Regions from separate parts of the Homo sapiens genome. Here regions 2 and 3 are each linked to region 1. The links are contacts of gene promoters, found by promoter capture Hi-C in blood cells and fetal thymus (Javierre and others, 2016). All regions are on one chromosome and are shown on one strand. The core of a region is centred on a gene start or on the middle of the fragment in contact, and the rest is flanking DNA. Distances in the headings are between cores, read along the strand shown. Region 1 holds the start of CENPK (centromere protein K). Region 2 overlaps MCCC2 (methylcrotonyl-CoA carboxylase subunit 2). Region 3 overlaps BDP1 (BDP1 general transcription factor IIIB subunit).

What was found. Contacts are between HindIII fragments. The CHiCAGO score rates a contact against its expected background, and 5 or more counts as called.
Region 2: a contact is called between a fragment that was not itself captured here and the fragment with the promoter of CENPK in region 1, in 6 of 17 cell types (naive CD4 T cells, total B cells, non-activated CD4 T cells and 3 more). The highest score is 15.1, in naive CD4 T cells.
Region 3: a contact is called between a fragment that was not itself captured here and the fragment with the promoter of CENPK in region 1, in 8 of 17 cell types (non-activated CD4 T cells, total B cells, naive B cells and 5 more). The highest score is 16.7, in non-activated CD4 T cells.

What each region holds. Positions count from the first base shown.
Region 1 is chr5:65,561,001-65,565,825 of GRCh38, reverse strand. CENPK (centromere protein K) reads left to right here and starts at 2,658. Exons shown (of 11, transcript NM_022145.5): 1 at 2,658-2,728; 2 at 4,262-4,363. PPWD1 (peptidylprolyl isomerase domain and WD repeat containing 1) reads right to left here and starts at 2,530. Exons shown (of 11, transcript NM_015342.4): 1 at 2,320-2,530. The coding sequence starts at 2,515. RefSeq lists enhancers at 2,081-2,741, 2,882-3,021, 2,742-3,403. The HindIII fragment of the contact is 1,930 bases long and covers 1,813-3,742 here.
Region 2 is chr5:71,589,817-71,594,641 of GRCh38, reverse strand. It overlaps MCCC2 (methylcrotonyl-CoA carboxylase subunit 2), which reads right to left. Exons shown (of 17, transcript NM_022132.5): 2 at 1,650-1,716. Among named protein-coding and RNA genes, the nearest start is that of MCCC2, 4.9 kb to the right of the region's middle. The HindIII fragment of the contact is 540 bases long and covers 1,564-2,103 here.
Region 3 is chr5:71,456,442-71,461,266 of GRCh38, reverse strand. BDP1 (BDP1 general transcription factor IIIB subunit) reads right to left here. Exons shown (of 39, transcript NM_018429.3): 2 at 2,412-2,688. Among named protein-coding and RNA genes, the nearest start is that of BDP1, 3.2 kb to the right of the region's middle. The HindIII fragment of the contact is 2,309 bases long and covers 683-2,991 here.

The DNA of each region.
Region 1 (4,825 bases), core at 1,409-3,908:
TTTTTTTTTTTTTTTTTTGAGACGGAGTCTTGCTCTGTTGCCCATGCTGAAGTACAGTGGCACAATCTCAGCTCACTGCAACCTCTGCCTCCTGGGTTCAAGTGATTCTCCTGCCTCAGCCTCCTGAATAGCTGAGATTATAGGTGTGCGCCACCACGCCCGGCTAATTTTTTTGTATTTTTAGTAGAGACTGGCGGGGTTTCACCATGTTGGTCAGGCTGGTCTAGAACTCCTGACCTGATGATCTGCCCGCCTCAGCCTCCCAAAGTGCCAGGATTACAGGCATCAGCCACCACACCCGGCCAACTATTGGCTGTCTTAAAACAATAAATAACTGATTAAGAGGAAAGATTTTCACACCTACTAATTTATATCTGTCTCCGTTATATTAAGTTTATAAGACACTTGTCCGGTAACACTAATATCAGCATTTCGATATTTCTGGATTTTTACATTTCTCCTTACTCGTTTAATTAAAAAAGAACTTGCAAAAATATTCATATGCAACAAAATAGCTAAAGACCAGCATAAAAGCTTTAATATGCAGTCATTAAATACTTAGGCAAAGCACTGTACACCAAGCAATGAAACAAAAAAGGCGTGATTCTGGTTCTTACTTGTTTACAGTCTTAGCAGTGGAGAGAAACATTCATCAATCACATGAATAAATATATAATTAGAAACTGCGGCAAGTGCCATAAATAAAATGGTTACTATGGAAACATTTAATAAGAGGACCAGGAAGTAAAAATGATAATGCACTGTAAGGGTGTCAATATACAACGTTCAAAAAAACAGCTTCTTCAAAATTTGGATACATAAAATTTGAAGGCTACCTGTAAATTCAGTATTGATATATAACTACCTCAGAGTTATGATCAAAGTGCTTCAGAAATCCAGTCCAGACTGGAGAAGTCACAGGCTTCCCAGAGAAGATGATAGCTAAGTGCTAAAGGTTGACCAAAAGTCAGTTCAGTGGAAGAGTTGAGGGAAATTATTCCCGGTAGAAACACCATATCTGGGTAGGAATCCAGAGGAAAAAAAAGTACAAGACCGATTCTCGAGTGATTTTAGAATGGGTGGAGTACAAAGTAAGGGGTTGGGAGAGGAAGGTAATGGAAGATGCACTAAGAAGGTAAGGAGAGATCACATCATAAAGGGCTTTATATGCCATGTGAGGGAGTTTGGGCTTTAATGAAAATAATGAGCTGGGCGCCGTGGCTCATGCCTGTAATCCCAGCACTTTTGAGAGGCCGAGGCAGGCAGATTACGAGGTCAAGAAATCAAGACCATCCTGGCCAACATGGTGAAACCCCGTCCCTACTAAAAATACAAAAATTAGCTGGGCGTGCGCCTGTAGCCCCAGCTACTCGGGAGGCTGAGGCAGGAGAATCGCTTGAACCCCGGAGACGGAGGTTGCGGTGAGCCGAGATAGCGCCACTGCATGCGCTCCAGCCTGGGCGACAGAGCGAGACTCCGTCTCAAAAAAAAAAAAAAAAAAAAAAAAGAGAGAGAAAATAATGACAAATCATTGAAGTTTTTTAAGGGAAGGTGCTAAAGTACGATTTGAGCTTAGACCACATTTAAAATGTCTTAAATACTTAAGGAAAACATTTCACAGAAAAACAAGATAACAAAACAACAAAGACAAGAAAACTTAATCTACCCCTTTTCCCACCCCTTTTATTTGATAATAATTTGTGATTATTCCTCGTTAGTGACAAAAAGACTCAGCCCATCGTATCAAGAGCGTGATTTCAAAACCACAGACTTCGGGTTTTGGATGAAAACAAATCTGTGATCTAGGAAGCTTACGTCATTTTCCCTAGATGCGAAAATTTATTAGTGGAAGTGTCAGAGTTGAAATTATCTTTACCTACCATGATTCGAAATAAGCACCGCCTTCCTCTCGCGCCCCAACACATTAATACATTAACACCACTCCTGAACTAAAGCCTTAAAGAGAACTGGTACCCTTTTGCATACCTAAATAAGAGTTCGAAATTCCAACTTCATGTGGCTGCTGTGGGGAGTAAATGAGAGGAGCCAAACACATAAGAATAGGAAAATGTTAGTTTTAGCATCTGTCATAACAAATCAATGATCAAAAGTGTTAGATATTATCAAAAAGACGTTGTACTACGCTTAAATCACTATTTCGTTAAGACATGCAAGTATGGAGTAGCCAGAAGTGAGAGGACGGCCCTCTGTTCTGAGGGCACAAAACTCCACACATCATCCCTCTTCGGATCTGGCTTGAACCCTCCTACTCAGCGGACGCAGCACTCCAATTCGTCCCGGTACTATGTCTGCAGCTACCTTTCCTCTTCTTGGCCAGTGTTGCCTCCACAGGTAAAGGTCCAACCCAGCGCTCTTCGTTCTCCTCATCGTTCTCCTGGGACACCGCCACTGCTACTGCCAGCTCTCTTTCGCTGAGTTCTGTTTTTTCCGGTTCCTCCGGGTCCCGGCGCCTTCTACGTCTCTGCTGAAAATCGCTACCACTTTCCGCCGCCATGTTGTTCGCATCGTCAGAAAAGGCGCGACACAAAACTCAGCTACCAATCCCAAAGCAGCGGCGCAGTCTTCTGTCAGCGTCCGAGCGAGTTTCGGGATTGGCTGGGGTGGGAATGAGCACATCCAATGGGCATGCAGCGCGCGCAGAAGTCCGGGGCTGGCAAGCGCTTCCTGCGCAGCGCCTAGGCGACCTGGAGTTTGTGACGCTGTGATGGTAAGACCTGGGCCGGGGAGGTTGATATAACGGTTGAATCTTGTGGAGCTCCAGTCCTGAAGGTGAAACCCTTATCGCCGGCCAACTAGATACCTGACTTCCCAGCCGGGCTTTGAGTCCCGTTCTTCTCGGCTTCCCGCGCGCCAACGCAAGCTCCATAACCTCACCAATATTTAGAGAAAGATGGAAGGGTGGGGACAGAAGGAAGTGGTTAACTCGCGGGTTTCCTTTCAGATGCACTAAACATGTTTTCTCTCCTGACCTTTATTCTCTCACACACTCTCTGAAGAAGGTGGTGAGTGCTTGTTACTGTTTCTGGGGGTGGGGTGGAGAAGCAGCTACTTCAAATAACCAAAAGACCTAGGGCAGAACGGGTCACTCTTCTTTCTTCTCTCTGGTATAGGATTTCATCTCCTAGCAGTCATCTGAACTCTTTCTCCTCCTCCTCATCTGTCTTCTTCATTTTTAAAAAATTAGGTAAAAAGCACATAACATAAAATGTATTATCTTAATCTCTTTTTTAAAAAATCAAATACAGCTTGTCAAAATGACCTCCGTAAAACACTTCTTTTTTCTCTGCAATTACTTTTGCACCAACCTAATAAAATCCTCGTCGTAAATCTCTTCTCTACTTTTGCCTTGAGATAGGCACCACGTACAGGGAAGGAACTGCCCCCCCATAGTAGGCACTTTATTTTATTTCAAAGGTTCCCATTATTTGACCATTCTACCTAGCAAGTCTCATTTCTTCTCTGCCCTCTGCTCTCATCAGACTACTTTCTTTTGTGTCTCACAAATTTCCCTTGTTCGTTCTTGCCTCCTACTCTTATGTTTTTATGCTTGAAAGCATCTCCACAGCGATTTAGCCTTCATGTTTACAGCTTCTCATCTTTCAGAGACCAATGCAATAATGAGGATGAAGATGATAATGATAATGATAATAATAATGTAGCTAGTTAACATTTATTAAGCATTATTATGGACTAATTCCTTCCGGGTTGGTTTTTCTAAGCTTCCCTATCCTGAATTCCGATAGTACTTGCAGGCAGTGTTGTATACTTTACCATTTCATAGCACTTCTGACTACCTGAAATCATATCATGTATTTAGTTATCCATTCATTTATATTGTCTGCATGAGAATGGAAGCTCTACAAGTACAAAGACTTTTTCATCTACACAGCTAAAGCCAGTGTCTGACCAATGGCACACATTAACATATTTGTTGAATAAATGAATGTATTTTAGAATTATGTGGGTATTTTTTGCTTATTTCATGTATATTAATCTTTTCCCAATTAATAGTACGAGTTTCTTTAAGTATAGTATTATCCCTAAATAAAGAGATACTGTTTTTCTTCAATAAATGATTAAGTATTGTAGTCCTAACTGGGGACCTCAAAAAGTTGACTTGTTCCCTTTCCAGGAAGATAGGTTTAAGGATACAAAATGTGGGAACGGGAAAAGTTCAACTCTTAAGTGTGTGTGTGTGTGTGTGTGTTTTAATTAAACAACTGAAATTTATTTCTCACAGGTCTAGAGGCTGGAGATTCAAGATCTGGGTGCCATCATTTTCTGGTTCTGTTGATGACCCTCTTCCAGGTTACATACAGCTTACATCTTGCATCCTCAAGCGGTAGAGAGCAAACTCTTAAATGTTTCTATATGTTTTTATTCTACTGCCACATTAAATCGCCAAGCCAGATAATTTGTTGAATATTTATCCCTCACCCTCCGCCCCCACCACATGTGCAGAGTTTTGCATTACTTTTGCATATTGATAATGTATTTTGGTGGTCAGTAAAGAAATATTTATGTTTGACTTTTTCGCTTAAAAATATTCTAAAATTCATGATGACTGATTTTGGCTTTGTGAACTTAAACTGTATCTTATGGGTATAGCAGGTGAGATTTTCAGCCTTCTACTAGTTGACATTCAAATTGTTAATAGCTAACACTGATAAAGCTCTTTATATGCTAGCTACAGTACTTATATATATATATTTATATACTCATTTAATTGTCATAACCCTAGGGAGTATTTAATATTATCTTCATTTTATAGGAAAGGAAACTGAGGCATAGAAAGTTTAAGTGA
Region 2 (4,825 bases), core at 584-3,083, 6.0 Mb before region 1:
GCCACCAGCCTGCACCACGGTTCCTCAGCATCCACCATCCCCAGCAGGCACCTGATGCCACAGGACTCCTCAACCCTCCATTGAGTCAAACCCACCTCTTTTTTTTTTTTTTTTGAGACGGAATTTCGCTCTGTTACCCAGGCTAGAGTGCAATGGCACCATCTTGGCTCACTGCAACCTCCGCCTCCCAGGTTCAAACAATTCTCCTGCCTCAGCCTCCCGAGTAGGTGGGATTACAAGCATGCGCCACCACACCCAGCTAATTTTGTATTTTTAGTAGAGACAGGGTTTCACCATGTTGCTCAGTCTGGTCTCGAACTCCTGACTTCATGTGATCCGCCCACCTCGGCCTCCCAAAGTGCTGGGATTACAGGCGTGAGCCACTGTGCCTGGCCCCAAAACCCACCATCTTAATGTCTAAGGGGGACAGTGAGTTCACCAAATCAAACTCTCAAAATGGGCATAACAATTGAGTTATCACCCCTAACAAAACACTTTCATTTCAGCAAGAGTTTGAATTCTTTTTCTGGAGACAACACCTTGATCTAAAATGGCTTCAAAAGTATGAATTCCATAGCTGCGTACAGGGGCACAGGTACAGTCTCAGCTACTTGGGAGGCTGAGGCAAGAAGATCACTTGAGCTCCCGACTTCGAGTCCAGCCCGAGCAACAGAGTGAGGAGACCCTGTCTCTAAATAAACTAGTAAATAAGCAATTCTAGACCATACTTTCCAAATCCAGTCTTCTTCACTATTTTTATACTCCTGAGATCCAGTATTTAAACTACTCTAACCTAAATGTAAAATTTTACATTAAAAGTATTATATACAATTTTAAGTATTATATACTTGTTGATAAAAGTTATCTGAAACAGTCTATCAAATATGAAGAATGCTTTCCATCTGAGATTCAGCACTTAGGGAGGAAATATTAAATGCCTACTAAGAAATCACTGGCCAGGTGTGGTGGCTCATACCTGTAATCCCAGCACTTTGGGAGGCCAAGATGAGAGGATCGCTTGAGCCAGGGGTTCAGTCCAGCCTGGCAATAGAGCAAGAACCCATCTCTTAAAAAAAAAATTAATAAAAATTAAAAATAAATTATTTATTCATAAAATTTATGAATTTGAATCTTTACTTTTCCCCCCAAAAGTGGTAGTACTCTATGAAGAGAAAAACTGGCCAAGTAATAGGAAAAATAAAATTAAATGCCTGCATACCAACAAATGCATAGTCTTAAGAGTCAAAAGCTCAGCCAGGAGTAGTGGCTCACGCCTATAATTGCAGCACTTTGGGAGGCCAAGGCAGATGGATCACTTGACATCAGTAGTTCAAGACCAGCCTGGCCAACATGGTGAAACCTTGTCTCTATTTAAAAAATACAAAAATTAGACAGGCATGGAGGCAGGCACCTGTAATCCCAACAACTTGGGAGGCTGAGGCAGGAGAATGGCTTGAACCCAGGAGGCGGAGGTTGCAGTGAGCTGAGATGGCGCCACTGCACTCCAGCCTGGGCAAGAGAGCAAGACTCCATCTCAAAAAAAAAAAAAAAATATCAAAAGCTTAATTCCAGTATTTTTCCTAAAAGCAATAACTATTTTAGGACATCTTAAGTAAAGGCATAAGCTGTGGAATAAATGCTGTGTTTACCTAGTTTTATATGCTCCACTCGTTCATGGAGCTGATTTACTAGTGCTTTCATCTGCTTGTAGTTCTCCTAAAACAGAAATAGAGGAGACAGGGGAGAGAAATATTAGAAAGCAATTCCTTTTTACCAAAATAAAGGTCAAAAAAAAAAAAAAAACAGTGGTCTGTGCCAACTCTGTGTGGCCGCCACACTGGGCCACCCCATCTGTGGCAGCCACGCTGGGCCACTGGATCGTATGGAAAAGATTCACCCCTGCCTGTCTTGTTCAAGCTCTTCTTCACCACCCCACTTGTCCATCTCTCCATATCTTACTCCTCTGTAAGCCTAATTCATGTTTTATCTCATCTTCAACTCTACTTCTGGCCACTCCTACTCAATTTAACATCTTTCTTCCTTAAACACCTTCTGAACTTAAACTGATCTCTATTTGTTTTCCTATTTTAAGGAATATAAGCTTTTTGAAGGTTAGAATACCATCTTATTTTTCCTGTCCCATCAGTCACTATCTGAGATTCCAACCAATGCTTGCTTACTGACAAAGTACACTTAAAAACAAATCCCAGAGGGAGAAAAAGGATCTTATTTTTATTTTTAATTTTGTATTTTTATTTTTTGGGACAGAGTCTCCCTTTGTTGCCCCGGCTGGAGTGCAATGGTGCAATCTCGGCTCACTGCAACCTCCGCCTCCCGAGATCAAGCGATTCTCCTGCCTCAGCCTCCTAAGTAGCTGGGACTACAGGTGTGTGCCACCATGCCCAGCTAATTATTGTATTTTTAATAGAGACCGGGTTTCGCCATGTTGGCCAGGCTGATCTCAAACTCCTTACCTCAAGTGATTTGCCCATCTCGGCCTCCCAAAGTGCTGGGATTACAGGCATGAGCCACCGCACCTGGCCAAGGATCCTATTTTATGTTTTAAAAAGAACAGGCTGAGTGTGGTGGCTTATGTCTGTTATCCCAGAGCTTTGGAAGGCGGAGGCAGGAGCATCGCTTAAGCCCAGGAGTTTGAGACCAGCCTGAGTAACATAGGGAGACTTCCATCTTTACAAAAAGAATAAAAATAAAAAGAATAAAAATTTAAAAATTATCTGGGCATGGTGGTGTGTCCCAGCGACTTGACCAACTAAGGTGGAAGGATCTCTTGAGCCCAGGAGTTTGAAGCTGCAGTGAACTAGGATCGTGCCATTGTACTCCAGCCTGGGTGACAGAGCAAGACTGTTTCAAATAAATAAATAAATTAGTAAAAAGAACAAAACTCGGCCAGCCGTGGTGGCTCACGCCTGTAATCTCAGCACTTTGGGAGGCCGAGGCGGGCAGATCACCTACGGTCGGGAGTTCGAGACCAGCCTGACCAACATGGAGAAAACTCGTCTCTACTAAAAAATACAAAATTAGCCAGGCAAGGTGGTGCTTGCCTGTAATCCCAGCTACTCGGGAGGCTGAGGCAGGAGAATCCCTCGAACCCGGGAGGCGGAGGTTGCAGTGAGCCAAGATTGCATCATTGCACTCCAGCCTGGGCAACAAGAGCAAAACTCCATCTCAAAAAAAAAAAAAAAAAAACAGAACAAAACTCTATGCTGGCATATATACACAAATTAAGTAATACACAAGGAAATATTGACAGTGAGAAGTAGAAAAGAGGTAGAGGGACTAACTTTTCACCCTTCTGTATTTTTAAATTTTGTTTGGTCAGCATATTACTTTAGAACAATACTTAACTAGCTAATTATCTTTGAAATTCAGACTTGGCCCACTAATACATTTTGCTCCCCATGTGATTAGCATCTCTAGTTATTTAGTTCCTTCTGTTTGACAGAACACTAAGCAACTTCCTAACTGTTCAAACTTAGATGAATATTCAGTCTACAGTATATCTCCATTATTTCCTATTTTCTACAGCTCCAAGAGCTCTGAGGGTCATGATTTCTGCTACATTCTCTTGCTCTGCAAAATCCAGAAAATAAAAAACAAGGAAGCAGCATGGTATTAGGGAAAGAACCAGTTGGAGCTAACACAATATACAGAACTTGTCACCCTACAACAGCAGAAAAAAGTATGTAACTTTTCTCAAGTGCACAGGCAACATTCTCCAAGATAGACTACATGTCAGGCCACAAAACAAATCTTAATAAATTTTAAAAGACTGAAATCATACAAAGTATCCTTTTTTTTTTTTTTGAGACGGAGTCTGGCCGTGTCGCCCAGGCTGGAGTGCAGTAGCACAGTCTCAGCTCACTGCAACCTCCGCCTCCCGGGTTCAAGCGACTCTCCTGCCTCACACTCCCAAGTAGCTGGGATTACAGGCGTGCGCCACCATGCCCAGGTAATTTTTTTATTTTTAGTGGAGACAGGGTTTCACCATGTTGGCCAGGCTGGTCTAGAACTCCTGACCTCAGGTGATCCACCAGCCTCGGCCTCCCAAAGCGCTAGGATTACAGGCCTGAGCCACCATGCCTGGCCCAAAAGTATCCTTTCAATCACAATGGAATGAAACTAGAAATCAATGGCAGAAGGATGACTGGAAAATTCACAAATATATGGAAATTAAACAACGTACTTTTAAGCAACCAGTGGGTCAAAGAAGAAAAGCACTGACCCACTGAAGCTGACATTTGCCTCTACAGACTGGGCAACATCTGTGCCAAGCTCAGCCCATCAGACTTAAATCACAGAAGAGCCAGTACTGGCTACAGTTCACCTCCCAGGCAATCCTTTATCAACCAACCTAGCCTCCTTAGGATGAGACTCACTAACCAAGAGGCAGTGTAGTTTAGTGGCAAAACCAAGTTCAACTTTCAGTTTCCCTACTTACTGATACTGCATTTGGCAAATCTTGATCTCTCAGGACGCCAGGTGTTTGTGTTTGTGTGTGTGTGTGTGTGTGTTTTAATCACCTGCGAAACAACATTCTACAACCTAGTAATTTTCTTGTGAAGCTGAGCAACCACAGAGGTTAGTGCCTGACAGTCATAATGAATTGGAGCTGAGCCACTGACAAGTTTCCCACCCCATCTTTTCAACCATAGAACCCACCTAGGTAGAGCTGGGTGAGTGAGAAGCATTATAGAGCAACAGTTAAGACCCTGGACTCAAGAGTTATGAGCCAGACCACCTGGCTTCAAATTCAGGCTCTGTGTTATCTCAGACAAATTTCTTGGACCCTATATACCACAGTTTT
Region 3 (4,825 bases), core at 588-3,087, 5.9 Mb before region 1:
GGCTTATTTCTCTAATCCCAGCACTTTGGGAGGCTGAGGCAGGAGGATCGCTTGAGCTCAGGAGTTACCAGCCTGGGCAACATAAATGAGACCCTATCTCTACAAAAAAATACAAAAAAATTAGCTGGATGTGGTGGCATATGCCTATAGCCACAGCTACTTGGGAGGCTGAGGTGGGAGGATCACTTGAGCCTGGGAGGTTGAGGCTGCAGTGAACTGCAATTATACTAGCGCACTCCATCCTGGGTGACAGTGAGACCTTGTCTCAAAACTAAATAAATAACCAAAGAATAAAACTAATAAAGCTCAATGTATAAAATGCTTACTGATGCCTTCTAACTAAACATCTTAATAGCTCACTGAGAATTTATGCTTACACAGCTTTTTTTTTACCCTGTAGTGACTTGAAATTCTGTGTATTTTGTAAAATTCTTGAAGCAAATGTTTAATCTTTAATTCCCCAAAATAAATTAAATAAGCAAATAAGCAGTTTCTGTAAAATACAGAACTTTTTTTTAATCCCCCCACCCCCAATTCCCAACCCATAAAACATTTTTAGAGGCTTTGATCTGTCGCCCAGGCTGGAATGCAGTAGCACAATTTCAGCTCACTGCAACCTCCGCCTTCCAGGTTCAAGCAATTGTTGTGAGGCTTACATTTTAGAAGACATAAATTGAAAGCTTGTTTTCTCCTGTGTGAAACAGTGATATCTACTTCACATAGTTGATATAATTACATAAGATAACAGATATAAAGCACCAAGCAAAATGCCTTCCCTTAATTTAAAAAAAACTAAGAGGCATTTTATAATTCATAACAGAAGCTGACACTGGTTGGACACTTACTATTTTCATGACACTAGTTTTTTTGTTTGGTTGGTTTTTTTTGAGACGGAGTCTCGCTCTGTCACTCATGCTGGAGTGCAATGGCACGATTTTGGCTCACCGCAACCTCTGCCTCCCAGGTTCAAGCGATTCTCCTGTCTCAGCCTCCTGAGTAGCTGGGATTACAGGCGTGCACCACCACAACCAGATAATGTTTGTATTTTTAGTAGAGACGGGGTTTCACCATGTTGGCCAGGCTGGTCTCGAACTCCTGACCTCAGGTGATCCGCCCACCTCGGCCTCCCAAAGTGCTGGGATTACAGGCGTGAGCCACTGCACAAGGCCCAAGACACCAGTTTAAGTGTGTTTTACATGTATTGACTCATTTAATCTTCACAACCCTCTAATGAGCTAGATAGAGGTTGAGCATCTCTTATCTGAAATACTTGAGACCAGAAATGATTCACATTTTGGATTTTTTCACATTTTTGAATACTTGCAGAATACATGCTGGCTGAGCATCTCTAACCTGAAAATTTGAAATCCAATATGCTCCAATGAGCATTTCCCTGGAGCATCACTTTGGCACTCAAAACATTTTAGACTTTGGAGCATTTTCAATTTCAGGGATGCTCAACCTGAACTATTATTGGTCTATTTTACAGATGAGGAAATAGATTAATTAAATTACCCAAGGTCACAAAGCTAGTAAAGAAATGAAGCTGAGATTCAATCCCTAAGTATTTAACTCCAGGGCCAGCATGCTCTACTGCTGTTACCTGCCCTTCTAGAAAAGAAATCAATCCTCAAGATTAAAAAGAACATGGACTCTAATATATGCATAACACAAATTTTTCCCACTTGTAATTTTCCATAGTCAATTTAGAAAACATTACCAATTCATTCTGCTCAACTATATTCGTCTTTTTTTTGGAGACAGTTTCACTCTATCACCCAGGCTGGAATGCAGAGGCACAATCTCGGCTCACTGCAACTTCCACCTCCCAGGTTCAAGCAATTCTCATGCCTCAGCCTCCCCAGTAGTTGGGATTACAGATGCACGTCACCAGGCCCAGCTAATTTTTGTATTTTTAGTAGAGACAGGGTTTTGCCATGTTGGCCAGGCTGGTCTTGAACTCCTGACCTCAAGTGATCTGCCCCCCTAGTCCTCCCAAAGTGCTGGGATTACAGGCATGAGCCACCACGCCCGGCCTATACTTGTCTTAATTCAAATAAATATATCACTTATCACTTGGACATCTTTATGTGAAAAATCAGACTGAAGGTTTATTTTATAAATATGTTTGTGTATGTGCATCTATGTGTATGCGTATGAAACTTATTTGTGGTCTTCACCAAAAACAGTGAAAACATAAATAAATAATGTAAAAATTACTATCAGTGAAAAATGTAATTTAAGTCCACGGTGTATCAATCAATCCATTAACAAGAAGGGATGTTCTATTGACTAAGGGATGTTATGTGGTTTTGTTCCCCCATCAAAATGCTACAAATGCTTTTCTTCCCAATGATTCCTTACTAACATAAATAGAAGGCAACATCAAAATCCTGATTCTCCTCCCTTACCTTCTCTTTTCTCAATTCTTCTTTTAACATTTCCCTCAGTTTCTGGGCTTTGTATATTCGGTATCTGTCTGAGCATGGCTGTTTCTCTTTTGTTGAAGTGGCAGTTGGCTGTGGAGCCTCTTGATTAATTGTAGATAAGGGATGAGATTCTGAAGGAACACTGACACTAGACTTAACCAGGCTAGAAGTACTTGATATTCGCTTTCTTCTCTGTGAAACAGTAGAGGAAGATCTACTGGATTCTTCAACATCATTGTCACCACCAGTCTTTTCAGTACTGTTGAAATTAAAAAAGAAAAAAGAGGGCACATGAATCTTCTGTTACACATGCTAGTTTTAAAACCTAGTCTGGTGAAAATCCAAAACTGCAATCTCGTAATTAAAAAAAAAAAATTAGTAACTTGAGATTTATGATAATTATGACAGGTTACAAAAAAATTTGTTTAGTAAATCTTTTAAATATACGTAAATTCTAATAGACTCTTAATCTTTTTCAAACATAAAGTCCCTAGGCACATTACAGCACATAATTATAGGCTTACCCCCCTCAAAACAAATAACCAACTTACAGAACAAAGCTTAGTCAACCTAATTTGAATTACTAAGTAACAAAGTAATAATTTATAATTAATTTCTATATAAAATTTAAAAAAATTTTAATTCACTCTGACATTTTAAACTGGTCTAAACTACCGGCATTTTACTTTACTTATCAACCCGAGGTCAGTCAAATCAAATATGCAAAACTCCAAACCTCTGAAATATCTGTATTGCAGTATTTGAAGAAAAACATTTAGTTACAGTAGCCAAACCCAATTCCCTTTGAGGCAGAAATCATTTATCTTTTGTCAGGTACAACTCTACTTATACAGCCATCAGAATAAACTTCAGTCAAAAAAAGTACTCAGTCACCCCAAATTGCATATTAGGTATGGTATACCTCAGATATAAGTATTTCAGGAATGGTCTATAAATGCAACTTAAGTCAAGAAAAGAGGTGGTATAAGTCAATAATTAAAAACAGTCTACTTTTTTCCTATTTTATAATTACTTATAAAAAATTAGAAAATGCCTTAACTTATAGAATAACCTTTCCAGGAAGACTTCAATTTAAATTCGTATCTTAGCTGTTATGGATACATGCATTATCTGCATTTCACCCAATTATGTTGAATGCATAATGACAGAATATATATCCTATAGAGTTTTACAACTAGCAAAGACCCACAAAAAAATAAAAAGAGGCTGGGCACGGTGGCTCACACCTGTAACCCCAGCACTTTGGGCTGAGGCAGGTGGATCACTTGAGGTCAGGAGTTCGAGTCCAGCCTGGCCAACATGGTGAAACCCTGTCTCTACTGAAAATACAAAAATTAGTTGGGCGTGGTGGGGCACGCCTGTAGTCCCAGATACTTGGGAGCCTGAGACAGGAGAATTGCAAGAACCCGGGAGGTGGAGGTTGCAGTGAGCCGTACCACTGCACTTCAGCCTGGGCGACAGAGCAAGACTCCATCTAAAAAAAAAACTAATTAAAAAAAAAAAAAAAAACCACTTTCCCAGAGTCAGTAATGGCAAAAAAAGTGACTAAAAAACAAATTATATTCCCCAAACGTAAATGTCAACTCAAAAAAAAAAATTAAATATCCTTGACCATAAATATCTCAAAACTACAATCTTTGGGCAATTTATTAAATTATCAACCATCACGCACTCACACATAATTAACGAAATCTCTGAGAACTTTATTAATGTAACAGCGACTAGTATCGGTATCTCCTTTCTGTGTAGAAATTTTGAAACAGATTCATGTAATAAACTTGGAAATTACTAACCATCACTGAACTATCAACGTAACACCATACACTCAGCACCAGTTCAGGCCAATAGAGGAAGATGTTCCAAAAATAAATAAATGTTTCACCTTCCTATCACAGCATAAACAGAATTTGTACTATCTCACTTCACTTAACAAGGCTGTTTACTGATTTCCTCATATATATAGAAACAGAGACCATCTTAGCCTAACATGTCTTAAATTTACTCCATCACCTTTCTAAAAAACTAGTAACTTTTTGCGGGCAACTATTCTGCTATATCCCCTGCAAGGTAGTTAATATGAATTATCTCCAATCTGCACCAAAACGCTCCAAGTAGGCAATATTATTCCCATTTTGCAGATGAGCAAATTCTGCCTGAGAAAAGTTTACCTGTAGACTAAAAGAGTCCTGAATCCAAATATGATACATGACGCTAAAGCCATGCTTCTCTATTCAGGAAACACGGTCACCATAGTTAAAGAGGCACACTTCAATTAAGTGACCAGAACTCTTACTCACTGACATAAATCGGTAAAGCCAAAGCAATACTTATCTTCTCCTTTAAAAAATAAATATTTTATAAATTGAAAGACAAAA